Regions from separate parts of the Homo sapiens genome. Here all the other regions are linked to region 7. The links are contacts of gene promoters, found by promoter capture Hi-C in blood cells and fetal thymus (Javierre and others, 2016). All regions are on one chromosome and are shown on one strand. The core of a region is centred on a gene start or on the middle of the fragment in contact, and the rest is flanking DNA. Distances in the headings are between cores, read along the strand shown. Region 1 overlaps SFSWAP (splicing factor SWAP). Region 2 holds the start of MMP17 (matrix metallopeptidase 17). Region 3 overlaps LOC101929974 (a long non-coding RNA gene). Region 4 overlaps SFSWAP (splicing factor SWAP). Region 5 has its middle 4.5 kb from the start of SFSWAP. Region 6 overlaps SFSWAP (splicing factor SWAP). Region 7 holds the start of RAN (RAN, member RAS oncogene family).

Region 1 (3,715 bases), core at 259-2,758, 910 kb after region 7:
TACTTCTAGTTAATTTTAGTTAAATAAGGGATTTAAAAGCATTTGATTTTGCAACTGAGACAAAATATGAAGGCAAAGTGCAAGCTTATTATAAAATGAAAATAATATTATAAAACAAAACCTTCCAGGTGTTGGATTGTCTAGCAAGTTCTACCGTGGGTGCTGGCCCCTGGCATTGGTTCCCCTCCACAGGGCCAAGGGCATAGCTGGGTGCAGAGACCGGCAGTGCCGTGGTCTCTGGAGTCTGAGGACATAAGTTAAACAAGCTAGTCAAGCCCCAGATGCTTGGGAGGCAGAGGCAGGAGGATTCCTTGAGCCCAGGAGATCGAATCTAGCCTGATCAACATATTCTCTATGACAAAAGAACAAGAAGAAGAAGAAGCTGGTGGTTTCTCACCATAACCTTTTCTTGTGGAATTCTGCCTCAGCTCTTCTGGGAACAGTGAGTGCGTGTTTTATTTAGTAGGATTGCATTTTTCTAAACTGGCTGCAAACCTGCCTCCTCCATCCAAGCTCTGCCAGCAATAATCATTTCCAGGGATCCAAGTGGCTTTAAAATGCAAGTTAGAAATGGGAGGGGTGGTGATCTCCTCAGTAATATGAATTATTGGAGTATAAAAGATAACTAAATTTTAACCAAAATATTGAAAGTGTTAATGCTGTTGTTATCAGATAGAATAAACTGTTACAAACGCAGCCTCCACTCAGAATGGATCGGACTTGTCACTTGGGCCTGAACAGACCTAATTGATCATTTTTCATGACTGCTGCCAGCCCACAGTAGAATACCGCAGTTGTTAATATTTCTAATTGGGTAGGATGCTACATGGAATGTATTTTGTTTTATATATTAAATTACTAAAATTCTATATAAAATACAGAAAGTTAAGATTAGAAAGCCTTCTTACAGCACAACGAATATTTATTTAATGGCTATACTGTTCCTGTGGTTGAAGTCCCATGTATTTAGTATGTCTAAGTTATGGGCGACTCTGGATCTCCAAAGGCAAATTAGTCATGGAAGAATCTTTAGTTTTGGAAAATCACTATGTTGCTTCTCAAAAAGTATACTAGTTACGACAAGGTAGTATTTAGTGTCTTTTACATCAACATTGAGGCTGGCACGGTGGCTCACGCCTATAATCCCGGCTCTTAAGGAGGCTGATGCAGGTGGATCACCTGAGGTCAGGAGTTTAAGGCCAGCCTGGCCAACATGGTAAAACCCCATCTCTACTAAAAATACAAAAATCAGCCAGGCGTGTTGGTGTGCGCCTATAATCCCAGCTACTCGGGAGGCTGAGGCAGGAGAATTGCTTGAACCCGGGAGGTGGAGATTGCAGTGAGCCAAGATCGTGTCACTGCTCTCCAGCCTGGGCAATAGAGCAAGACTCCGTCTAAAAAAAAAAAAAAAAAAAGATTAAAGTAAAATACTTTTATTGTCTGTTTTCATTTGTATTTTGATATTGTATCTGGTTCTCTATGTTAATGGAATGAAGAAGTACTCATGTAGTTCATTTACAACCTGAAATTAAATTTTAATAAGTATCAGCTTGAAACTAAGTTTATTTTTAAAACTTTTGCTAAGATAGTCTCTTGTGTTCATTTAGTTATCTAAATGCATCTTCAGAGTTAGCCTGGGCTTCTGGGAGTTCTAGATAGATCTTTGAATGTTGTCATTTTAAGATATCTTCCAGTATAGAGAGCTATATGATAAAAATATATTTCTGGCCGGGCGTGGTGGCCCACGCCTATAATCCCAGCACTTTGGGAGGCTGAGGCAGACGGATCATGAGGTTGAGACCATCCTGGCTAACACGGTGAAACCCCGTCTCTACTAAAAATACAAAAAATTAGCCGGGCGTGGTGGTGCCTATAGTCCCAGCTGCTCAGGAAGCTGAGGCAGGAGAATGGCGTGAACCCGGGAGGCGGTGCTTGCAGTGAGCCAAGATCGCGCCACTGCACTCCATCCTGGGCAACAGAGTGAGACTCCGTCTCAAAAAAAAACATTTTATATATATATATATATATATATATATATAATTCTTTGTAGAAATTAGCTCCCTAAATACTTGGGGTTGGTGAAGGAGACTGGGGATTTGGAAGACTTTTCTTAGGAGTCTTGTTTAGCATTCAGAAGGGACTCAGGCCACACTGGGTTTCTATTTTAGGTTGAAAGTTGTGGCTCCTCACTGCCCTTTTTACCCACAATAAATTGCATAGCAAATCCGTAAAAGCGATGACTCATCTCCTAATCCTGCCCCTTAAAGGGGGAAACCAGATGCTTGCAGTTCCCCAAGTGGTAGTGTTGATCATGCCAAGGTGAGGACCGTCGTTCCATCCCTTGCAAAGTGAATCAAAGTGAATTGTAGCCAAACACAGATAAGACCAGAGGGTGTCTGCACTGAGCAGTCCAGGAAGGAGGGGAGCTGCAGTGGCTGTCACCGGGCTGGGACACGAGGAGGAATTGCAGGTGAAATCAGATCCAGTTTCAACTTGAGGAAAATTCAGCCCCGGGAGCTGCTGGTAGAGCCCAGACCTTGATGCTGAGTCATCTGCACAGAGAATTCCGTGACAGAAAGGCCGTGGGTAGAGACGTGAATGGAGGAAGTGGAGTAGATGAAATGGTTAAATGTTGGAGAAAAGAGGCTATTTATGAATATGACCACTGTCATTCAGATAAAATTTCTGGACTGTTATCATTGAAAAAAGTCTCATTATGTTTCTATTTGAAAGCAAACCATTATGCTTTTTTGAGGAAAAAAAAAAACTGTGAGTCACGTTATGCTTGCAAGTGTTTAATTCAGACCATTTCATCTTTAAGAAGGCCCCTGGTCACATTATACGGATGATTTGCTTATTAAATGGAACTCCTGTTTCTTGCACCATGTTGTGGGGTCAATATGAGAAGCCTAATTAACAGAATAAAAAGCATTAAAGCTTCTTTAGCTAAAGTCAAACTTAGAGAATTGTCTAATGGTATGTAGCCCCTCGTTCTAAGATGGGCGTTTTCCCCAGATAACTTGAAAATCTACTGGTAACAGCCACTTCCCTTTAAAGAATTCTATTACTAATAGCCATGACAAAATGGTATTGTATTTCAAAGTTAAGAATTTGCAGGCCTTAAAAACTAACTTATTTTTCCTGATTATTGAGTTTATTGTAGAATTCTACGTGTAAGCATTCCCCAGCCGCTATAGCTTTGAATAAGCAGAGCTTTTTTCAGAGTTCTGGTAGCGCCCAGCCCAGCACCTTTTATTCTGAATGTGAAGTGTGTGCCTCCGTGTCACAGAGTCACAGCCTCCCCAGGGACGCTGCGCGCGGAGCCCTGTCAGAGCAGCGCGTCAGTGACAGCGGCAGCCGAGCCAGGAAGTTATCAGGCAGCCTCGACCACCACCAGATTTGACTCCGCGAGCTCTTTTGAGGGAAAACCTGGTAAAACGTCAAGGTGTCTAACTGACCTCGCCTTTATCATCTGTTCTGTAAATCTTAGGAAAGGTCTGGGAAAAAATCAAAACGATTCTGTCCGTTAAAGGGCAGCCACTCCTGGCCCTCCAGGATGCCGGGGTCTGAGTGATCCCGAGCTGATCTGCAGAAGCACAGCCTGTGGCATTTGCGGTTTATTGTCATGAAAATGATTCAACGTAGAACTTTTTCAAATGGCAAAATCAAACCGCTCTTCTTTATATTGTTTTTGAATGAGTTGTCATGGAAACAA
Region 2 (3,507 bases), core at 707-3,206, 960 kb after region 7:
TGAGTCCTCGACCCAGCTTTGCCTGCCATCCACCCTCCCTTCCTCTGACTTCAGCACCTCTGATTTCCTGTAGAGAATCCCTTCCAGCCCAGGGCTTCAGCTCACTTCCCTGCCCCTGGCCCCACGATCAGGTCCTGACCCAGAATCCAGAGAGAGGTGGCCTTGGGACCATTGGTTGAGAAAGAGTCTGTCTCTGGCTGGGCCTGCTGAGGGGGAAGGATGCACAGGAGCTGCCCTGGGCCGTCTTTGCCCCACACAGAGATGGACTGAGAGAAACCGCGTTCTGACGCTGTTGCTGTGAGACTTGGTCCAGCCCTGCCTGACTTTGGCACACGCTAGGACGCCACCGTTTCCTGAGCCCATACCCATACGCTTCCTTTCCTTGACTACAGCCGCTTTGGCTGGGTCTCTGCTCTGGAAACCAGGTTGTCCTGATGCACTTGGTCAAAATCCCGGATGAGGCCAGGTGCGGTGGCTCACGCCTGTAATCCCAGCACTTTGGGAGGCCAAGGCGGGCTGATCACCTGAAGTCAGGAGTTCAAGACCAGCCTGGCCAACATGGTGAAACCCCGTCTCTACTAAAAATACAAAAATTAGCTGGGCACGGTTGTGCACGCTTGAAATCCCATCTACTCAGGAGGCTGAGACAGGAGAATCATTTGAATTTAGGAAGCAGAAATTACAGTGAGCCAAGATCGTGCCACTGCACTCCAGCCTGGGCAACAGAGCAAAAAAAAAAAAAAGAAAGAAAGAAAAAACAATCCGGGATGTCCTGTGAAAGTCCCCACCTCCTACAGGTGATCCCATCAGTCCGAACCAAGGTCATCTGAAGCAGGTGTGGAATCACCCTGTTCAGACCGGGCCAGGGAGGCTCTGAGGGCAGCAGGGACAGGATGGGCCAGAGTACCCAGGGAAGCGGGGGGGGGGGGGGGGGGGTGGTTGGGGGGAGTCGGCCCTCACAGGAGGGGAGGGGCACCACTTCCCTGAGACCAGTTCTGGTAAAAGGGGCCGAGCCTCAGTTTCCCTGTCCGTAGAATGAGACCTCAGTCCTGACAGTACCAGCTGCGATTTGGGGTGGTGGAGCAGGAGGGCCTGGGAAGGAGGGGAAGCCATGCTGTCCAGCACGAGGAGAAGCTGAATAAAGGCAAGGGTTACCCTTGAACCTCACCCCCTGCCCTCTCCCAAGATCTCCCACTCGGTGGGCAGCCTGTACGCAACTTGCACGAGTTCAATCCACACAAGCGCCTGCTCGGGCTCTGACCCTGGCTCTGCCGCTTGCCCGCTCCAGGACCTCCCATAAGTTACTTCATTTCTTTGGGCCTCAGTTTCTTTGTCTGCGAAATGGAAATCATAGTTTTCATCTCATAAATGTTGTAAGTAAATGAAATTATTTATGTAACTCCTGGGCATGTGCCAGGCACACGCTGCGCTCCAACAAACATTACAAGTTAACATTCTCGCTCCCAGGCCCGCAGGGACCGCAGAGCCTCCGCCGAGGACCCCAGCCCCCCCAACACCCGCCCTCGCCCTCCAGTCCCCCGCGCCCCCCAAGCCCCACCCTCCCTCTCCCGCGGTCCGCGGGCTCCACCAAGCGCCCACCTGCTGCGCTGCGGCGGCGGCTCCGGGGCCTGAACCCGGGTCTGAACCCGGGCCTCGGCGCCGTGGGGGGTGGACCCGGGAGCGCGGCCGGAGAGGGGAGTCAGGGTCAGCTCCCCGCAGGCGCCCCGACCCCCGCCTCCGCGCCCATCCCGCGCGTCCCCGCCGCCCCAAGAGCGTCCTAAGACACCCGGGGAAACGCCTTCCCTGTGATGCCGCGGACCCAGTCCCGTCGCGGACACGGCGGGGCGGGCGGGGGTGGCAGCGTCCGAGGCGGCGCGGGCCCTTTAAGGCGGCCGGCCTCGTTAGCATACATTTGCATGGCCCCGCCCCGCCGCTTGAGGCTGCCGCGCGGGGCTCAGTCCGGCGGGGGCGCCGCGGAGAGCGGAGGGCGCCGGGCTGCGGAACGCGAAGCGGAGGGCGCGGGACCCTGCACGCCGCCCGCGGGCCCATGTGAGCGCCATGCGGCGCCGCGCAGCCCGGGGACCCGGCCCGCCGCCCCCAGGGCCCGGACTCTCGCGGCTGCCGCTGCCGCTGCTGCTGCTGCTGGCGCTGGGGACCCGCGGGGGCTGCGCCGCGCCCGCACCCGCGCCGCGCGCCGAGGACCTCAGCCTGGGAGTGGTGAGCGCGCGGGCGGGACGGGCGCGGAGCTCCTGGGCCGGAGCCGGGGGTCTCCGCGGGCCGGGTGGCGGGGACCGGGAAGACCCCAGCAGTGCACGTCGGCGTCGCGCGGGAGCCCTGGCGCCCTGGACCCATTTCCTGGGTGGGGAGACTGAGGCAGGGACGCGGGCTGAGCGACCGGGCGAGCGCACGCGAGTCCTGGGGAGGCGCCGGCTGCCGTCCCGGCTCCGTGCGCTGGGAGCGCGCCGCAGCCGCAGGAGCCCGTGGAGTTGTGAGGGGGTCGCCCACCCGGAGCCCGGGTCGCCGGCTTGCAGCAGCCCCGGAGCAGCCGGGCTGGGCGAGAGCAGGCATCGCGGCCGCCCCGAGCTCTGCGCGCTGCGTGCGTTCCGGGTGGGAGTGGCGGGGGCAGGAGCACGCACCCACAAAGCGAGGAAGGGCAGGGGCTACGGAGTGGGGGCACCCCGAAAGCCTTGAGCCCCCGAGTTTGCTCGGTTGAGGGTGTTGGGGGCACAGGGATGCTGGCCCCCAGCTCCCCACTGGACAAGGACCTGGCCCTCAGCCTCCTTCCCCTCCACCCCAGGTCGGCCAGGCTGGCCCTGCCTTGCCCTGGTACAGTGCTGAGCCGGGGGCGCGGGGAGAGCCTTCCTCACTCCACACCCAGTAGCTGTCCCCAGCTCAGCTTAGAAACCCTGCCTGGGGGCAGCGACGTGGCCTCTTCCTACAGCCCCCTCCCCTGTTCCGCAGCCGGGACTCGCGTCTCCTGTGGACCCGGAAGATTTAGAGCACACGTCGTGGGGTCAGCGCCCCCCCGCTGGGGCGGCCGGGTGAACTCCCGCTGGGTTCGTTGGTTCCTTCTGAGGCTCCTGCCCCACCGCTGCCTTCAATGGACTCCTACCCAGGGAGTCGGGCCAGGAGCCGAGGCCTCCCCGCCCCACACAAGTACTCGGCCTGGCCCTCGTCCGCGGACAGTCTCCCAGTGGGGTCCTGGCAGGGCCCCTCGCCCAGCGCAGTGGACATTCAGGAGCTCCAAAACCTTGGGGTCCAAGCAAGTCAGCGCAGGTGTATTTCAGGCAGTCGAGGCATATGGAGGGGCCACTTGGGTGGCACCCGCAGCCCCTGTGGTTGGCAGGACTTGGCCAGGGGGTCTGGATGGGAAGCCGATTTGGCCACCGTTTGCCCCAGGCCCCGAAGCCATCTGGGAGGGTGCTGGCCACTGTCCCTGCTGCCCGCGTCCAGGTGCCTGCAGGTCCCCACAGTGGCTTCCTTCCAGCCAGGCAGCCTGTGAACTTG
Region 3 (3,462 bases), core at 325-2,824, 630 kb after region 7:
GGCACAGATAAGTAACTTGCCTAAGGTTATACAACTCATAAGCGGCAGTGCCAGAATTTGAACCAGGCCATCTGGCTCCATGCTGAACTTCTTTAAGATCCCTCCAAGTGATCTGAGCCCCAAGAGGAGATGCTGCATGGTTTGCAAAGAAACTAGAGTTGGACAGGACAAGAGCCAGATCATGAGAACCTGAAGACCATCGCATCTGTCAGGATCCTTTCTGTCGTGAGCAACAGCAAACCAAAACCAGGCCAGCATAAATGAGAAGAGACATTAATGGTGCACTTACCTGGAAAGTGTGGTGACTTCAGGCCTGGCTTGATCCAAGTGCCCAGGTGACATCACCAGAGTCCAGTCTCTGCTCTCCTTCTCTGTGCTACCTTTATTCTCAAAGCAGCTCTGTCCAGTAACTCCAACCTTACCATCCTCCAGTTTATGATTCAAAAATCTCAAGAAAGGTCCACCACCTTTCCTCAGCCATTCAAGCAGAAGACCAGGGTTTCCTCTGTTTGGATGCCAGAGTCCTTGCTTGAATTGCATGCTTGTTCCTGAACCCATCACTGTGGCCCAAATGGAAGCTCTGATTGATCCAGGCTAGGATGCATGACCCATTCCCTGGAGCCCAAAGCAAAGTCACATCTGGAGTCCTGGACTGGGGGAGAGGATCTGGCAGGGAATGTAGACCCAGATATGGAAGAAGAATGTGAAGACTGAATGTCCAACAAACAAATGTCACTCTTCAGGCCCATCCAGGACTTCGGCTATTGAGGAGAACTCAGCACCAAGAAGAGAGTATTTTCCAGGTTCTCTGTTAACTGAGACCATGGCTTTGAAGAGGAAGGAGGAAAGAAGGATGGCCCAAGGGAGGCAGCAGCTCCAGAAGCAGGAGAGCTGTAGACTTCCCCCAACATTCGCCCATACCCCACCCACCTTGCACCCAGGCCTGGGTGGGACAGAAACCTCCAGAGCCCAATAAGAAGGGGACTTTAAACTAGTGGCTCTCAAAGACGCTGTCCACTGGAATAATCTGGGAAGCTTTGCAATGACTGGATCCTGGCTGGCCTCATTCTCACAGATCCTGATGTAATTGGGCTGGGGCACAGTTTGGAAATCAGGGTTGTTAAATCTTCCCATGTGACTCTTATGTGCAGCCAAGACTATAATCTACAGCCTGAGTCATTCTCTACATGCACCAACAGTGTGTCTACTCCTCAAACACCACCCAGGGATATCACTCTATTTTAATTCATCTCATTTCTATCCATTTGTTAAAAAAAAAAACATAGCAGTTCACCCACTTAACTCTCTATTGTTAATTTTTCAAATCCTCCCTGGGGCTCCTTCAGAGTAACTAGGGGAGAAACCAGTGTCTGACCTGGAAGCTCCTTTTTCTTTGCTGTGCTGATTTGCTCAAGATGTTTCAGGTGACAGTGAGGCTGTGGTTGGTGTGAGGTCAGTCTTCACCTTTCTAAGTCTGGCCAGGAGAGGAAGTGACTGGGAGAGAAGATGATTAATACCCTCCCAGGCAACCCTGAGTGGGGCTTGTGGGGAGGCCCTCAGTGCATTTGGCATAACTAGTCTGAGCTGTCTCCTTCTCTTCCTTCCATCCATCTGTCCATCCACCCATCAATTTGCAAGGACCAGATTATGATGGACATTTCTCCAGAGGTCTGTGAGGGAGGGAGATGATGGGCCAGAAGCCAGATGCATCAGACTCATGCCTTCCCAGAGAAAAGATGGAGAGAGGGAGCTCCTGAACTGACTGAGCCCAACTGTGATATAACCACATTTACTTACAATTGACTAAGACTGAATGTTGTGCAGTTATTTTGGAGGTAGTATTAGCTATTACTGTAAGTTTCAGTTTTGCATGGCTCAAAATTCGAACCTATTACATGTTTGGATGAATGGAATTCTTGAAAATGTGTCTCTGATACATGATGAATCAGAAACCAGGCTGTTCTTCTTGACCGGGTTAAAGTAAGGATGGAGAGGAAAGGCCAGGATGTGAGCCAGTGAGGGTCCAGACCCACTATCATCATGCCTTGAGATCCTGGAATATGAATGTCTACAGTAAGTGCTTAGCAATGGTCTGGCATCATGGATGTACACGACAAGCTTAGTGATGGCATGGCACTGTACATGTACATGGTGGTTCCCAGTCATTACCTGGCATTGGATGGTGCTTAGTGATGGTCTAGCACTGTGAGTGTACACAGTAGGTGCTCAATAATGGCTTGGCACCAGTTACGTACATAGTAGGTGCTTGGTGAGGACCTGGCATTATGGATGTACACAGAAGATGCTCAGTGATGGTCTGATGGGTTCCTCTCCGTGCCCAGCTGCTTACTAGTTACTGGTTAGGTGTGCCCAGTCACAAGGGGGGGGGTCCCGAAACCCACCACAGATGACACACCCTTCAGATAAGAAAGGGGTTCTAGAGATACAAGACCAGCAGGGGAGGTCGCCTGAAGAGGTATCAGTGAACTGAGTGACAACCCAACCCACAGAGAAACTTAAAAATCACGCGCCCTGTCACAAGTTACCTAATCATGACCACCCGCGCTGACTGGGGGCCTACTCTATGCAGGCCCTCCTCTGAGTAGAGTTGGTCCTATGTAACCGCAGGTTCTGCATCTACAGATTCAACCAACCTCGGATACAGAATGTAGTTAGGCCTACGATGGTTGCATCTGCACTGTATGTGTACAGACTTCTTTTTCTTGCCATTATTCCCTAAACAATAAAGTATAACAACTTTTCTTTCTTTTAAGAGACAAGATCTCACTATATTGCTCAGGCTGGTCTCAAACTTCTAGTCTCAAACTTCTGGTCTCCAGTGATCTTCCCATCCCAGCTTCCTGAATAGCTGGGATTACAGGCATGAGCCACTGCATACAGCCAGTATAACAACTGTTTACACAGCATTCACATTGTCTTAGGCACTACAAGTAATCTAGAGATGATTTAAAGTAGAGATGGTCCCTGGCTTACAATGGTTCAACTTATGATTTTTTGAAGTTATGGTGGGTTTATTGGGATGTAACCCCATGGTAAATAGACAAGCACACGGACTTACGACAGTTTCACTTATAATTGTTCAACTTTACCACGGGTTTATCAGGGTATTATTAACTGCACATTTTTGACTAAATGAAATTTTCTACTTACAATGGGTTTATTAGGACATAGCCCCATCAGAAGTTGAAGAGCATCTGTATATGGGAGGATATGCATACATTATCTGCAAATACTATGCCATTTATATAAAGGACTTGAGCATCTGCAGATTTTGATGTCCACGGGGAATCCTGGAACCAATCCCCTGCAGATTCTGAGGGACAACTGTACTCTCCCACAAAATCGAGCAGCACAAGATCAGGGGCTATGTCTGTCTTGAGTCACCATAGGGGCCCCATCCCCTGAATGAGCATGGCCCAGAGCAGTTGACCAAAATAGACC
Region 4 (3,483 bases), core at 414-2,913, 890 kb after region 7:
TCTTTTCAGCCTCGGTTTTCCCATCTGTAAAATGGGAAGCCTCTCAGTGTCCATCCTGTGGAGCTGTAAAGGCTGAGTAAGGGAGGCCTGTGGGCTGTGTGCCATAGGCCACTCTTAGAGTGAGTAGCTGTGGTTTTGGCTTTGTGTTTGGTTTGCATAGATACTAGCTTTAAAATGTCTACTTGACAGGCCGGACAAGGTGGATCACCTGAGGTCAGGAGTTCGAGACCAGCCTGGCCAACATGGTGAAACCCATCTCTACTAAAAATACAAAAAATTAGCTGGGCATGGTGGCGAGCACCTGTAATCCCAGCTACTCAAGAGGCTGAGGCAGGAGAATCGCTTGAACCTGGGAGGCAGAAGTTGCAGTGAGCTGAGATCGCGCCTTTGCACTTCAGCCTGGGCGACAGAGCGAGACTCCGTCTCCAAAAAAAAAACAAAAAAAAAGTCTACTTGAGGCTGGGCACGGTGGCTCATGCTTGTCATCCCAGCACTTCAGGAGGCTCAGGCAGGAGGATTGCTTGAGGCCAGGAAGTCAAGGCTGCAATAAGCTATGATTGCACCACTGCACTGCAGCCTGGGCAACACAGTGAAACCCTTTCTCAAAAAAAATAAAATAAAATGTAAAATGAAATAAGCATTGCTAGAAGGTGTTCTGGAAGCTTTCATCTTAATACTCTTATTTGTTGATTGCGTATTTTTCTAATTTGGGGAGATGGTTTGGAAATAATTGTTATTAAATCATTTTGTGATATATTTTAGTCCAGCCCCTTGTTTGTTTTGTTTTGTTTTTTGTTTTTTTTGAGATAGAATCTCACTCTGTCACCCAGGCTGGAGTAGTGCAGTGGCGTGATCTCAGCCCACTGTAACCTCTGCCTCTGCCTCCCGGGTTCAAGTGATTCCCCTGTCTCAGCCTCCCAAGTAGCTGCGATTACAGGCGCCCGCCACCACACCCAGCTAATTTGTGTATTTTTAGTAGAGACAGGGTTTCACCGTGTTGGCCCTGCTGGTCTTGAACTCCTGATCTTGTGATCTACCTGCCTTGGCCTCCCAAAGTGCTGGGATTACAGGCGTAAGCCACTGCACCCGGCCAATTTTTTTTTTCTTATGGAAAATCTCAAACATGTACGAAAACAGAATATCACATAATGACCACTCACGCCCCACACACGTGCTCATCATCTGGCTTCAGCTGCCGGCCCTGCTGCTTTTTATTTTGATGTTATAAAATACTGCTGTCCCGGTATCAGTATCTTTGTGTGTGCCCTGTCCCCTGAGGCAGTTGTTGATGAAAAGTGGTTATATTTCAGAGGGTCTGGGCTATCACATGCTTAACTGTCTACTTCACATCACACGCGGGTTTGGAGCCATAAAATGCTAAAGCGGAAGGACCTCCGCCAGGGGCCAGCCAGGTAGCCCACCCTGTGCTACAGAGGTGGCATCACAAACATAAGTTGCAGCCCTTCCAGAAGCGGCCTTGTTTACCCAGAACCCACTTCCCTCTCAGTCACCTGGTTTGCGGTGCACTTAGCATCCCCTTCATTGTGGGTGCCTTGAATATTCTTCATAAATAACAACTGATGGTTTTTTAAAATACTGTATCTTATTGCAACCAGTTAGCTCTTGTCAAGAGCCATTTATCACAGCATCTGAAAGAGAAAGGGACTCTGTGTTCATTGAGTGGTGGGGCGGGAAAGATGATTTTTTCTTTAGGGCCTCCATATTTCCCTTAAATTTAAGCCTTCTGGATATTCTAAGAGGAGGGATTGCTTCTAAACTTCTGTCACGCTGGGTTTGACATTTTCTTACAGGTGTGGAAAATGGTCTAACATAATGCCTGTCACAAAGTAGGTAAAAATGTTTGCTGAATAAAGGCATGGATTCTGTAATTTTTGCTTTGTAAGAAAAGGCTATTTTTTATCATGGGGAATTTTTTAAAGAGACCTGTTTATAGTGGAGTCACATCATATGCCTCCTGAAGCAAATTTAGATATATGCTGAGCCATGAATTTTTTTTTTTTTTTTTAAAGAAAAATGAGGCCGGGCACAGTGGCTCACGTCTATAATCCCAGCACTTTGGGAGGCCGAGGCAGGCGGATCACGAGGTCAGGAGATCAAGACCATCCTGGCTAACATGGTGAAACCCCATCTCTACTAAAAATAGAAAAATTTAGCCAGGCATGGCAGCGGGCGCCTGTACTCCCAGCTACTCAGGAGGCTGAGGCAGGAGAATCGCTTGAACCTAGGAGGCAGAGGTTGCAGTGAGCCGAGATCGTGCCACTGCACTCCAGCCTGGGCGACAGAGCGAGACTCCATCTCAAAAAGAAAAGAAAAGAAAAATGACAAGAATTGGCCATTTAAAATTGCAGGTGACTGCCCTGGCATCAGCGAGTGTGCCCTTGCCATGAAGTCCCCAGTCAGTGCGGTTCTCACAGCATGGTTCAGGGGCTCACCCCAGCCCCACGCCATGCAGTGCACATCTGCACAGGTCTGCTCTGACGGCACGGCGTCCCCCACCGTAGACCCTGCATATGATGTGGCTCCATGCTAGTCATCCCCTTCCCAGCAGCCGATGCTCAGGTGGGTAGCAGGGCCTGCAAAGATTTCCACTCTGTAACATGTATCATAATTCTCACCTTTCCTCAATAGCTTCCTTTGCTCCAATAAGCTTTGCAATCAAGGCCAAAGAAAATGATCTGCTTCCCCTGGAAAAAAATCGTGTTAAGCTAGATGATGACAGTGATGATGATGAAGAAAGCAAAGAAGGCCAAGAAAGTTCTAGTAGTGCTGCAAACACTAACCCAGCAGTTGCCCCACCCTGTGTAGTTGTTGAGGAGAAGAAGCCTCAACTTACCCAGGAGGAGCTAGAAGCAAAGCAAGGTTTGTTGATAGCTTTTAAACTTCTTGAAAGAAAGGAAATACACAAATATAAGATTTATCTGCTAAGCCAAAAAATCTCGAGGCTGCCAACTAGAATCTGAAGCCTTTGGAAATCGACCTATTTGGGAGTTGTGTAACATGTCTGAGGTTTTGAAACGTTCTCTTTTAGAGGAATGAGCTCTGCTCTTCACTGAGCCTCAAATGCAGTGCCGCTGGCAGTTTGTTTTCGAAGAAACTGAGTTGGCCGTCTTAGCTCTAATGCGCCACAGTGGAATGCATTAATGGCAGCTCACTTTGCACTTGGCTGGCAGCCCCAGGGTAAAAGGCTCAGCCTGTCTTCCCAGCTCAGGAACCAAACTAGGAGATGCCCTCTTGTGAGGCTGCCTACCCACAGAACCATTGGGCCCTTGAAGGTGGTGTGTCCCCAGCTGGTTTTCCGGCTGCGGCTCATCTTCATGGGCCGCAGTGTGGCCACCACACCCACCCCAACACTGCTGGCAGCATGGGGACAGCATGTAGTCTTCCCATCCCGACTCCAGAATAAATTCTGCTCTGCATTAAAGCAGTCAAATAATGGTTGCTGCATTGTGGTTGTTATCTATT
Region 5 (3,551 bases), core at 738-3,237, 830 kb after region 7:
AATTCATTACCACTAGAACAGCTTTATAAGAAATGATTGAGGGAGTCCTACATCTGGAAGAGAAAAGATAATCGTCACTATCGTGAAAACATGCAAAAGTATAAAACTCACTGGTAGACCAGGTACACAAACAAGAAAGACGAAATAATAAAAACTTGGTTGGGCAGGGTGATTCATGCCTGTAGTACCAGCACTCTGGGAGGCCGAGGAAGGCAAATTGCTTGAGCCCAGTAGTTTGAGAGCAGCCTGGACAACATGGTGAAATCCCATCTCTACAAAAACAAAATTAGCCAGGTGTGGCAGTGCATGCCTGTGGCCCCAACTACCCAGGAGGCTGAGACAGGAGATTTGCTTGAGCCTGAGAAGTTGAGGCTGCAGTGAGCCATGGGCATGCCACTGTACTCAGCCTGGGCAACACAGTGAGACCCTGTCTCAAAAAAAAAGAAAAGAAAAGAATAAAAACCTGTTACTACAGAAATACACCAAACCAAAATAACAAACAATAAGCAAAGAAGAAAGGCACAAAGGATATATAAAACAACCAGAAAACAGTCAATGAAATGACAGGAATAAGTCCTTGCATATTAATAATAACCTTGAATTAAAACAGGTTAAATTCTCCCACTAAAAAGATATAGACTGGCTGAAAGGATTTTTTTTAATGACAAAACTATATGCTACCAACGAGAAATTCACTACACCCATTAAAGACACATATAGACTGAAAGTGAAGGGATAGAAAAAGATATTCCATGCAAACAAAAACCAAAAGCAAGCAGGATTAGCTGTATTTATATCAGATAAAACAGACTCTGTAAAGCAAAAATTGTAAAAAGAGAAAAGGTCATTATGTTATAATAAAAGGATCAATTCAGCAAGAGGATATAATAAATATACATGCACCCAACACCAAAGCACTCAGATACATAAATAGCAAGTATTATTAGATCTAAAGGGAGAGATGGACTCCAATACAATAACAGCTGGGGACTTCAACACCCCACTCGTGGCACTGGAGAAGTCATTTAGACAGAAAACAACAAGGAAACATTAGGTTTAAACTGTTCTTTATATCAAATGGACCTAACAGACATTTATAGAATCTTTCATCTAATAGCTGAAGATTACATTTTCTTTTCATCAGTACATGGAACATTCTCCAGCATAAAATTCTCCATCAACAAGTGAATGGATAAAGAACATGCAGTGTATATACACATAATGGAATACTATTTAGCCACAAAAAAGGAATAAAGTTCTGGGCTGGGCACGGTGGCTCATGCCTGTAATCCCAGCACTTTGGGAGGCCGAGGCATGTGGATCACCTGAGGTCAGGAGTTCAAGACCAGCCTGACCAACATGGAGAAACCCCATGTCTACCAAAAATACAAAATTAGCCAGGCATGGTGGCTCATGCCTGTAATCTCAGCTACTAGGGAGGCTGAGGCAGGAGAATTGCTTGAACCTGGGAGGCTGAGGTTGCCAGGAGGTGGAGGTTGCCATGAGCCGACATCGCATCATTGCACTACAGCCTGGGCAACAAGAGTGAAACTCCGTCTTAAAAAAAAAAAAAAGGAATAAAGTTATGTCATACCAGCAACATGGACAACCTTGGAGGTTATTAAGAGAAATAAGTCAGGCACAGAAAGATAAATACTGTATGTTCTCACTCATATGTGGAGGCTTAAAAAGTTGATCTTATAAAAGTAGAGAGTAAAATAGTGGCTAGTAGTGGCTGAGAAGTGTCAGGAGAAGGGGGCATAGCCAAAGGTTGATTAAAAAATACAAAAGTAGTCGGCCAGGCACAGTGGCTCACGCCTGTAATCCCAGCACTTTGGGAGGCCGAGGCGGGCAGATCACGAGGTCAAGAGAATGAGACCATCCTGGCCAACGTGGTGAAACCCCATCTGTACTAAAAATACATAAATATACAAAAATTAGCTGGGCATGGTGGCGCACACCTGTAGTCCCAGCTACTTGGGAGGCTGAGACAGGAGAATCGCTTGAACCTGGGAGGTAGAGGTTGCAGTGAGCCGAGATGGTGCCACTGCACTCCAGCCTGATGACAGAGCAAGACTCTGTCTCAAATAAATAAATAAATAAATAAATAAATAAATAAATAAATAAATAAAAATAAATAAAAAACAAATACAAAAGTACAGCTAGTTAGGAGGAATGAGTCTAGTGTTCCATAGCACTGCAGGGTGACTATAATTAACAATTTATAGTATGTTTCAAATAGCTAAACGAGCAGATTTTGAATGTTCTCAGCACAAATAAATGATAAATGAGGCAATAGATAAGCTAATTATCTGATTTGATCACTACACATTGTATACATGCAATGGAAATATCACACTGTACCCATAAATATGTACAATTATTATGTGTCAGTTGAAAACAATTTTACAAAACACACATTTGCATGTTTATTCTTAGGTTTTTACAGTTCTTTAATCTTATTTATTCACCTATTTTTTTGAGACAAGGTCTTGATAGGGTCTTGCTTTGTCGCCCAGACTATACTGCAGTGGCACAATCACAGCTCACTGCAGCCTTGACCTTCCACACTCAAACAATCCTAAGTTTCACCTTTTGACCTACACAGACTAATTGTATTACATTTTAATGTGAAGTCTCCACCCTGAAGTGAACTTGGGACCATGTAACATGAATGTTTGCTTACCACACAACCTAGCAAGCCCCTTTCACAAATATTCATAGCTCCTCCTATAACCTATTAAATATGTATGTTTAGCCAACCTGTTTAGCATAAAACTCCTCTCCCACCCTTCTTCCTTCAAAGTGCCTACTTTCTGTCTCAGCCAGAGGGTCTGCTTCCCAGGCTGTGGGTTGCAACTCTTCTCAGAAATAAAGTTCTCCTTTCCAAATTTAAGATCTTGTGATCTTTATTTTGACATATGAGATTTCCCTAGCCGGTTTTTAGTCCATCCCTGAAAGACTGAATGGTTAGATCTTTGATATCTTTCTCAAGTACCTCCCATTTGACCTCAGCCATCCATTTTCAAGTATCACCAGTCCCAGTATCATATGAATAAATTGGGAAAGATCAAGGAATCATGGATCATATACTCCAGGAGAATTTTTTACCTCCAAGAAAATTTCTGGGGGCTTTCCTTTGAAACCTTTCACTGTTGCTCTGAACTCAAAAGATTTCTGAACAAGGCATAACAGTGATTAAAGAAGCAGACTTATTAATCTGAGGGCCTAACTATATAAGGCATTTGTTTAGCTTTCTTTTTGTCTTTGGGGTAGGAAGGTAACTGAGATAAGAAGTTAGGAGATTCTGAGTAGGCAGAGAAGGATAGAAAGATAGAATGTACAGTGAGTTCAATACATCAAAATACAATTTTTTTTCTCATAAATTAGCTGCTTAAGTTTTTCATTTGCTTTTTGTAAGAAGTCATTTAGAAAGGCAATTTTTGGTTCATTTAACCTTTTAGAAGCCTCTGCATGTCAATCAAAATACATCCTTTTGTTTCTGAGGTGTTTTTTGTCCTTTCTTAATATTTTATTTTATTCCTTTCAGA
Region 6 (3,730 bases), core at 117-2,616, 870 kb after region 7:
CTTCGTGTTACAGTAGAAAGGAGCGCACTCATAGGCATACAGAACACTGTGCAGGTCTAAGACTTAGGAGAAGACGGAGATTTCTAGGCTGTTGGAATGTTATTTTGTATATGCGAGTTTGGGTAGCTTAATAATAGAGATTAAATAAAAGAAATGCAGACAAAACCTACAATGGAGTGCCATTTTTCAGCTGTCACTCAAGCAGAGAAAAGGTGACAGACGTTTATTGTCGGTGGGGGTGTAGATTTGTGCCAGCGATGTGGTACTTGTGGAGGGCCAGCGGGCAGTCTATCAGTCTAAAACACACGTGCCTCCAACCCAGGATGTCTGCTCTCATTTACTAGTATATGGGTGAACATAGCCACATAGATACTCATCATAGTACAGTTTTAGTAGTAGCAAAAGACTGAGGCGACGCACATCCTCGGTGGAGGACTAATGGAGTCCCTCTGGTGTGCTCTCGCGGTGGGCTGCAGAGCTCTGGGGGTGGGCCAGGGCCCGAGCGCTGCAGGGCCACCCACCGGAATGGCTCTTCCTGAGGGTGGAGGCGAGGTGACTCAAGGGGAGGGCAGCACGAGGCAGTCTGTTCACGTCAGAAGGGGAGGGAAGTGTCTGTAGTGCTTCTGTATCGGCACCTAAAAGGGCAGGTAAGAAGGACCAGTGGCCAGCACAGAGAGGGGAACTGGAAGGACGAGGTCGCAGACAGGAGTGGCTGACTCACCTGCCCGTTTGCGCTGCTTGCATTTTTTCAGCGTGACTCGTCACCCTCTCAAAACATGCAGATTGACGTGGTACTTATTTTGAGACTAAACTGGTATCCTGAGTTAATTCCTTACAACTCTGTATTTTAATAATACGTGCTTTTATCATTTTGTTTCATCAGCTCAGTGTGTTTTTGTTTAGGCGGAAGTGGCCCCCGTAACATCTTTCCCCCGTAGAGACTTGCATACCCAGTACTGCTGTGTCTCGTGGGAGGCTGCTGGGTCACTAAGCTTTTCTGGCTTTCATACGCTGGGTATTTAATAATCACCTTAGGATATACTCAGTCGTTCTTTCTTATTTACTTCCTACTGATGGAGATTTTCCTACATTTTGGCAGCCTGGGAAGAAAAGCATCTATTTTTTTCCTTAAAGTCCAGCAGAATTTTATATATATATAAAATATGTGTATAAAATAATTTTTCTAGAAGCTCATTAAATATAGATGTGTAAAACTAACAATTTATTTCATTTATTAATTTTCCTGACAATGAACTACTTTTCATGCTCTTTATTTTTCATTACTTGTCTTCTGCTATTTAGCTATAAATCCTTATAGAAGAGTATAAATAAATAAAAGTAATTATGCAGGAGGCAGTCATAGTGAAATGCTGCCCACTGTGATAGCCTGTGGGTTTTTTTTAATAAAATGCCAACTCAGTTTTTCTTAATATTCTATAAATATCTGAAGTGAAATTAAACCATTGCGCATGGCTACTATAGATATTTTCTTGCTTCTATCCCTGTTTTTTAAATGTGCCTTTGCTGTTTATGGTATATTTTTCCTGCACATCATGACTTTGAAGTTCTTTACTTACTTTCCAAACCCATTTTTAAAAATGGTTTTATTGTATGTCAAGAGAAGAAGGAAGAAAGCAAAAATGTTACCCAGGATTCCACCATCCAGAAATAGCCATTAGTGAACATCATTAGCAAAGTGGAAAACACTGAGGTCATCGTGCTAAATAAAAAGGAAAGAAAGAAGCTTGTTATCTGTGGAACACAAAGATCATCTTTATGCACGAATATCAATTAAAATGTTGGATGTGTCTCTAGAAATACTTACGTTAAAGTGGAAATAAACTTAATTTTACTTAAACAGAAGAGCCTGCAATCTAAAAATGAAGTAACTGTCGAACTTCGGATGAAAGTTTCTTTTATGCCTAAAGAATTCAGTTCTGAAAAAAGGTTAGGAGAACATTGAGAGGTTGTCATTGTAGATATTTTTTAAAGCTGTGTATTTTTCCTGATTTTTGTTAGAATTATTCAACTTTTTCTTTGCATTTAATATATCTCGAACATCTTTGTATTAACAGTGCATGTGTATCTCTCTCTTCTAGCTGTAGCAACTACCTAGTATCCTGTTGTATAGATTTATTGTGAAACAGCCCTCCATTAATTGATAATTTGATTATTTGTGACTTCCAATTATTTCTACTTTTCCAGTGCTGTAATGAACATTATTCTTTTTTTTTTTTTTTTTTTTTTTTGAGACAGGGTCTCTCGCTCTGTCACCTAGGCTGGAGTCCAGTAGCGTGATCTTGGCTCACTGCAACCTCAAGCTATCCTCCCACCTCAGCCTCCTGACCAGCTGGGACCACAGGCATGTGCCACCACACCTGGCTGACTTTTTAGATAAATTTTTAGAGGGTCTTGCTATGTTGCCCAGGCTGATGTTAAACTCCTGGGCTCAAGTGATCCACCCACCTTGGCCTCCCAAAGTGCTGGGATTACAGGCATGAGCCACTGTGCCCTGCCAATTATTTATTACTTTTAAGCACTAATGTGGTATAATTCTATATGCAAGATAAAAATCTTAGAAAATAAACAGCTAGGTCAAAGAGTATGTGCATTTGTTTAAAGTATTACCAGTGACTGAGCAGTTGCCTTCTGAAACATTGTGTCAATATGCATTGCCACCGCTAGGATATGAGTGCTTCTTAGTTTTGTAACCATTTAAAATGATTTGAATATGCTGATATAGAAATATATTTAAGAGTGAGTAGGACAGTCAATATACTATATTTATGACTTTGGTTCCTTTAAAGTATAGAAATATTATTTTTATATTATGAGAGTTTATAAATAGTATTTGCATTCTATTATTCCCCAGTTGCTTTTTTTTTTTTTTTTTTTTTTTTTTTTGGATGGAGTCTTGCTCTGTCTCCCAGGCTGGAGTGCAGTGGCGCAATCTCGGCTCACTGCAAGCTCTGCCTCCTGGGTTCACGCCATTCTTCTGCCTCAGCCTCCCGAGCAGCTGGGAGTACAGGCGCCCGCCACCATGCCCGATTAATTTTTTGTATTTTTAGTAGACAGGGTTTCACTGTACTAGCCAGGATGGTCTCAATCTCCTGACCTCGTGATTCACCTGCCTTGGCCTCCCAAAGTGCTGGGATTACAGGCATGAGCCACTGCGCCCAGCCCCCAGTTGCTTACTTTTAGTTTTATGGTTGACTGGATTCGTTTTTTCCCTACAGCTTCTCCTTTTGAGTTATTTATTCGATTCATCTTTTCTTGATCATTTGAATTTCATAAACAAGTACGTTTTTACAAGGGCTGTAGTTCATGAATTCTGCCTGTCGAAAAATGCCTGCCTTTGACCTTTATGTGAACAGGACGGCTTGTCTGGGTATAAAACTCTTGGGTAATGCTGTGGGCCTCTCAGATCTCTGGGAACTAGAATCTGACACTGTCCTTTCCACTGCAGGGTGGCCCGGGGTAGCTGGATGGGTCATGACTACCTATTTGGGTTTGTTCATTGGTTGGTTTGCTTTCATTGCTCCTATGCTGCTCTCTGAGTTTTTTCACGCTTGAAAATCTTTCTCAGCTGCCTTTTAACATAAATAGCAATTTGCAGGGAACGATGCACCGAGTCGCTTGCCTAGGATTCAGAAGTGGAATTGAACGTTGCTGTGGAAAGGGCGAGGCCAGCCCTGTCTTCCCTACCTGCCCTGGGAGGTGGATGCTCTTT
Region 7 (3,399 bases), core at 900-3,399:
TGTTGTGGCGCATGCCTGTAATCCCAGCTACTCAGGAGGCTGAGGCAGGAGAATCACTTGAACCTGGGAGGCGGAAGTTGCAATGAGCCGAGATCGCACCACTGCACTCCAGCCTGAGCGAGAGTGAGGCTGTCTCAAAAAAAAAAAAAAAAGGAAATAGAACATTGCAGGTAAAGTTAAAGTCTTCTTTGACTCCTCTTCTCAGTTCCATCACACTCCTTTCTACCCTTTCTTGAAGCAATAACCATCAGGATATGGTATATAGATCCTTGCAGTCAATTAAAAAAAACAACAAAATACATATATCCAATAGCCAATATGCTTTTGTTTTATGTGTATTTGTAAAAAATATACATAAATGACATTATACTATATATATAATCCCTCTAGATAAAGTTACATATAGTGTTAGGTTTTATGTATTAATTTTTGAAAACAGGGTCTTGCTCTGTCTCCCAGGCTGGAGTGCAATGGTGAGATCATTGCCCATTGCAGCCTGTAACTCCTGGGTTTAAGGGATCCTCCTACCTCGGACTCCCAAAGTGCTGGGATTACAGGTGGCCTAGACTTTATAAAGCTGTTATCACCTCTTTCTTCTTTTCTCAACACTATCCTTTTGACATCTATCTAACCCTGTTGAAACAGATGACCGTCATTCCTTTTAAATGTTATACAGTATTAAATGTTGTGCACATGCGTGAGGCATGAGTTTAACTCTGGGGCCTCTCCCTAGAAATGGAAATCCGGGGTCACAAGCAATGGGCATTCCCGTTTTACTGTTAGATTCTGCTCTCCCGCCAGCAGCGTCTGAGAGGTGCTTGGGGTTCCCCTGAGGGTTCTGGGGGAGCTCGGACTTGCGTTCCCAGCAGGCCGGTTGTCGCCTGCTTTGTGCCTAATTTGCGTCACTGGGGTTCCTAGCGGACTCGCCTGCAAGTGTGCTCAGGACTGCAGGGAGGACTCTTCGGTCACTGCGGCTCTCTCCCCATGGTGGACTCTTCTGAGGCGCTTGACTGCGCTGATTTGGGCCTTTATCTGTCTGCATGTCGGCAGGGGCGCCCAGGAAGTCGGGTCCCTCTAGCTCAAGCTTGTTTGGGCTCTTACAGCTTCAGGCCAACAGGGGGCTGGGAAGCTGAGCACTTACTCATTCCGTCCCCGTTGGTAACTAGGGCTGGTAGACGCGTCCAGACTGCAAACAGTATTTCATCATTTTGTCTGTAGCATGCAGCGGCCAAAGCTGCCAACCTATGAAACGCTTTGAGAAGCCGGACGCTTTGGGAGGCCGAGGCGGGTGGATCCCCTGAGGCCAGCCTGGGAGACATAGTTAGATTCTGTCTCTCAAAAAAATTTTTAAAAAATTACCCCTGATGTGGTGCGCGCCTGTAGTCCCAGCTACTCGGGAGGCTGAGGCGGGAGGATCGCCCGAGCCTGAGAGTTCGAGACCAGCCTGGGCAACGTAGCGAGACTCCGTCTCTTAAAAAAAATAAGTAGCCGTTTTTCTGGGTGGGTGCATCCCTCTCTGGTTCCTCGCTCTCCAACTGGCCCTGGTCCTGGGGGCGTGAAGGCTACGATCTGGAGAGACAGAACAGCGGGCTGCCTCTGGAGGACGGGCCTAGACCCCATTCATTCATTCATTCGTTCTGTCACCCACCCGTCCTGCGCGCACGCGAGCCACCCTAAGCCCCAGGACCTCAAGAACCCCCACCCCACGGGGCACAGACAAGGACAGGCTGGCCAGCGCCTGGAAGCCGCGTGCCTGACCACGTCTGCCCGAGCGAGTACCGCCTCCCACCCGGGAGGCAGGAGAGCCGCGACCGTCGGGCCGCGCCCAACGTCTCCCGCTCAGGGGCGCGCCGCCTCGCTTTCAGCGCATGCGCGCCCGGGAGCCCGCCCGGGGCGTCGGCGCACGCGGTCCCCACCGGCCGGCTTGCGTACGCGCTCCCGGCTCGCCCTCCCACGCGGTCCACCGCGCCTCCCGCCCCACCCTAAGCGCAGCGACCGCCCGAGCGGCCGACCGAACCGCGTTGCGTGCGTGCGCGCACGCGCGGGCCACGTGGGCGGGCGCCGCGCCGTTGCCCCGCCCCTTGCAACCCCGCCCCGCGCCGGCCCCGCCCCTGCTCTCGCGCCGGCGTCGGCTGCGTCTCCGGCGTTTGAATTGCGCTTCCGCCATCTTTCCAGCCTCAGTCGGACGGGCGCGGAGACGCTTCTGGAAGGTATCGCGACCCGGCGGGCCCGGCACGGCCGGGCGGGGACAGGGGTGGCGGCGGCGGGATAGGGGTCGGAGCCGGGGCCAGGGCCGGGGCGGGTGGCGGACCCAGGGGCAGCGGGCGGCTGAGTAGGTGGGTGGTGCGGGCCCGGCCGGGCCGGGGCAGGAGACGGGCGTGGGGTCGGCGCTAGCCCCCGCGAACCCCCGTTTCATCCTCCGCTCTCATCCCCGTCCCGGTCCCAGTCCCGTTCCCATCCCTACACCTCCGGCCGCCGTTCCCCGGGCCCCGCCGCCCCGGATGCCGGCCCCGCCCGCCGCCTTCCCGCTCCCAGGCCTGGCCGCCATGGCGCCGCGGGCGGGAGGCCTTTGTGGGGCGGGCACGTGGGGCGCTGGGGGCGCGGGAGCGGGGCCGCCATGGGCTGCGGGGCCGCGCGAGCGCTCGCCTCCGTCCTCTGCCTCCGCAGGAACGCCGCGATGGCTGCGCAGGGAGAGCCCCAGGTCCAGTTCAAAGTAGGTAACCCTGCGGGGCGGGAGGCGGCCGAGCCCGACCGCGTGCGACTCGCGGGTCCCTCCTCCTGGGGCCACGATGGCTGTAATGGGGCCCCGCATCCACATTCTTTGTTTTAAGTGAGCCTGTGGTGGTTAAAGTTCCGTGACTCTGGGATCTTGAGAGGTGAAGTGTTTAGGGTTTACTTCCAAAATGTGTTTTTCAACAGCTTGTATTGGTTGGTGATGGTGGTACTGGAAAAACGACCTTCGTGAAACGTCATTTGACTGGTGAATTTGAGAAGAAGTATGTAGGTATGTGCTGGAAAACCTTGCTTGTGGAAATATGTGAGAAATGGGTAAGTTCATCCACTCAATCGCATCGTTTCCGTTTCAGCCACCTTGGGTGTTGAGGTTCATCCCCTAGTGTTCCACACCAACAGAGGACCTATTAAGTTCAATGTATGGGACACAGCCGGCCAGGAGAAATTCGGTGGACTGAGAGATGGCTATTATATCCAAGGTAGGCATTTGTAACTTGCTGAACGGTTTTTGAGAGGTTTTGTGTACTTCAGTCTTCAAGGTTATAGAAAATCAGGTCTGTTCCAACAAATAGTGTCATTTTTGGGTTAAAAAAAGACAAGTGGACTTCGGGGAGTTGACCACCATTTTGGTGGCAGAGAAAATTTTATTAAAGTTGTGTCATTTGC

The links. The method cuts DNA at HindIII sites, captures the fragments that hold promoters and counts their contacts. A CHiCAGO score of 5 or more calls a contact.
Region 1: a contact is called between a fragment that was not itself captured here and the fragment with the promoter of RAN in region 7, in 3 of 17 cell types (total B cells, endothelial precursors and erythroblasts). The highest score is 6.8, in total B cells.
Region 2: a contact is called between the fragment with the promoter of MMP17 here and the fragment with the promoter of RAN in region 7, in 1 of 17 cell types (monocytes). The highest score is 5.2, in monocytes.
Region 3: a contact is called between a fragment that was not itself captured here and the fragment with the promoter of RAN in region 7, in 1 of 17 cell types (M0 macrophages). The highest score is 5.2, in M0 macrophages.
Region 4: a fragment that was not itself captured here is called in contact with the fragment with the promoter of RAN in region 7 in 4 of 17 cell types (naive B cells, total B cells, endothelial precursors and 1 more); the score reaches 7.5 in naive B cells.
Region 5: a fragment that was not itself captured here is called in contact with the fragment with the promoter of RAN in region 7 in 4 of 17 cell types (total B cells, naive B cells, fetal thymus and 1 more); the score reaches 11.2 in total B cells.
Region 6: a contact is called between a fragment that was not itself captured here and the fragment with the promoter of RAN in region 7, in 3 of 17 cell types (endothelial precursors, total B cells and naive B cells). The highest score is 9.2, in endothelial precursors.

What each region holds. Positions count from the first base shown.
Region 1 is chr12:131,781,784-131,785,498 of GRCh38, forward strand. The region is part of intron 14 of SFSWAP (splicing factor SWAP); the gene reads left to right. Among named protein-coding and RNA genes, the nearest start is that of MMP17, 45 kb to the right of the region's middle. RefSeq lists an enhancer at 2,924-3,715. The HindIII fragment of the contact is 2,853 bases long and covers 83-2,935 here.
Region 2 is chr12:131,826,437-131,829,943 of GRCh38, forward strand. It overlaps MMP17 (matrix metallopeptidase 17), which reads left to right and starts at 1,957. Exons shown (of 10, transcript NM_016155.7): 1 at 1,957-2,217. The coding sequence starts at 2,059. RefSeq lists a silencer at 1,822-1,951. The HindIII fragment of the contact is 25,913 bases long and covers 1-3,507 here.
Region 3 is chr12:131,498,245-131,501,706 of GRCh38, forward strand. The region is part of intron 1 of LOC101929974 (a long non-coding RNA gene); the gene reads right to left. Among named protein-coding and RNA genes, the nearest start is that of LINC02414, 150 kb to the right of the region's middle. RefSeq lists an enhancer at 1,351-1,400. The HindIII fragment of the contact is 1,083 bases long and covers 1,034-2,116 here.
Region 4 is chr12:131,761,807-131,765,289 of GRCh38, forward strand. It overlaps SFSWAP (splicing factor SWAP), which reads left to right. Exons shown (of 18, transcript NM_004592.4): 12 at 2,650-2,880. Among named protein-coding and RNA genes, the nearest start is that of SFSWAP, 52 kb to the left of the region's middle. The HindIII fragment of the contact is 2,006 bases long and covers 661-2,666 here.
Region 5 is chr12:131,704,796-131,708,346 of GRCh38, forward strand. No RefSeq gene overlaps it. Among named protein-coding and RNA genes, the nearest start is that of SFSWAP, 4.5 kb to the right of the region's middle. The HindIII fragment of the contact is 5,398 bases long and covers 1-3,551 here.
Region 6 is chr12:131,736,661-131,740,390 of GRCh38, forward strand. All of the region lies in intron 7 of SFSWAP (splicing factor SWAP), which reads left to right. Among named protein-coding and RNA genes, the nearest start is that of SFSWAP, 27 kb to the left of the region's middle. RefSeq lists an enhancer at 1-1,074. The HindIII fragment of the contact is 752 bases long and covers 991-1,742 here.
Region 7 is chr12:130,869,917-130,873,315 of GRCh38, forward strand. RAN (RAN, member RAS oncogene family) reads left to right here and starts at 2,150. Exons shown (of 7, transcript NM_006325.5): 1 at 2,150-2,210; 2 at 2,668-2,713; 3 at 2,920-3,004; 4 at 3,087-3,212. The coding sequence starts at 2,678. RefSeq lists enhancers at 1,190-1,951, 1,375-1,454, 1,952-2,713 and silencers at 1,735-2,194, 2,265-2,404, 2,455-2,664. The HindIII fragment of the contact is 6,850 bases long and covers 1,083-3,399 here.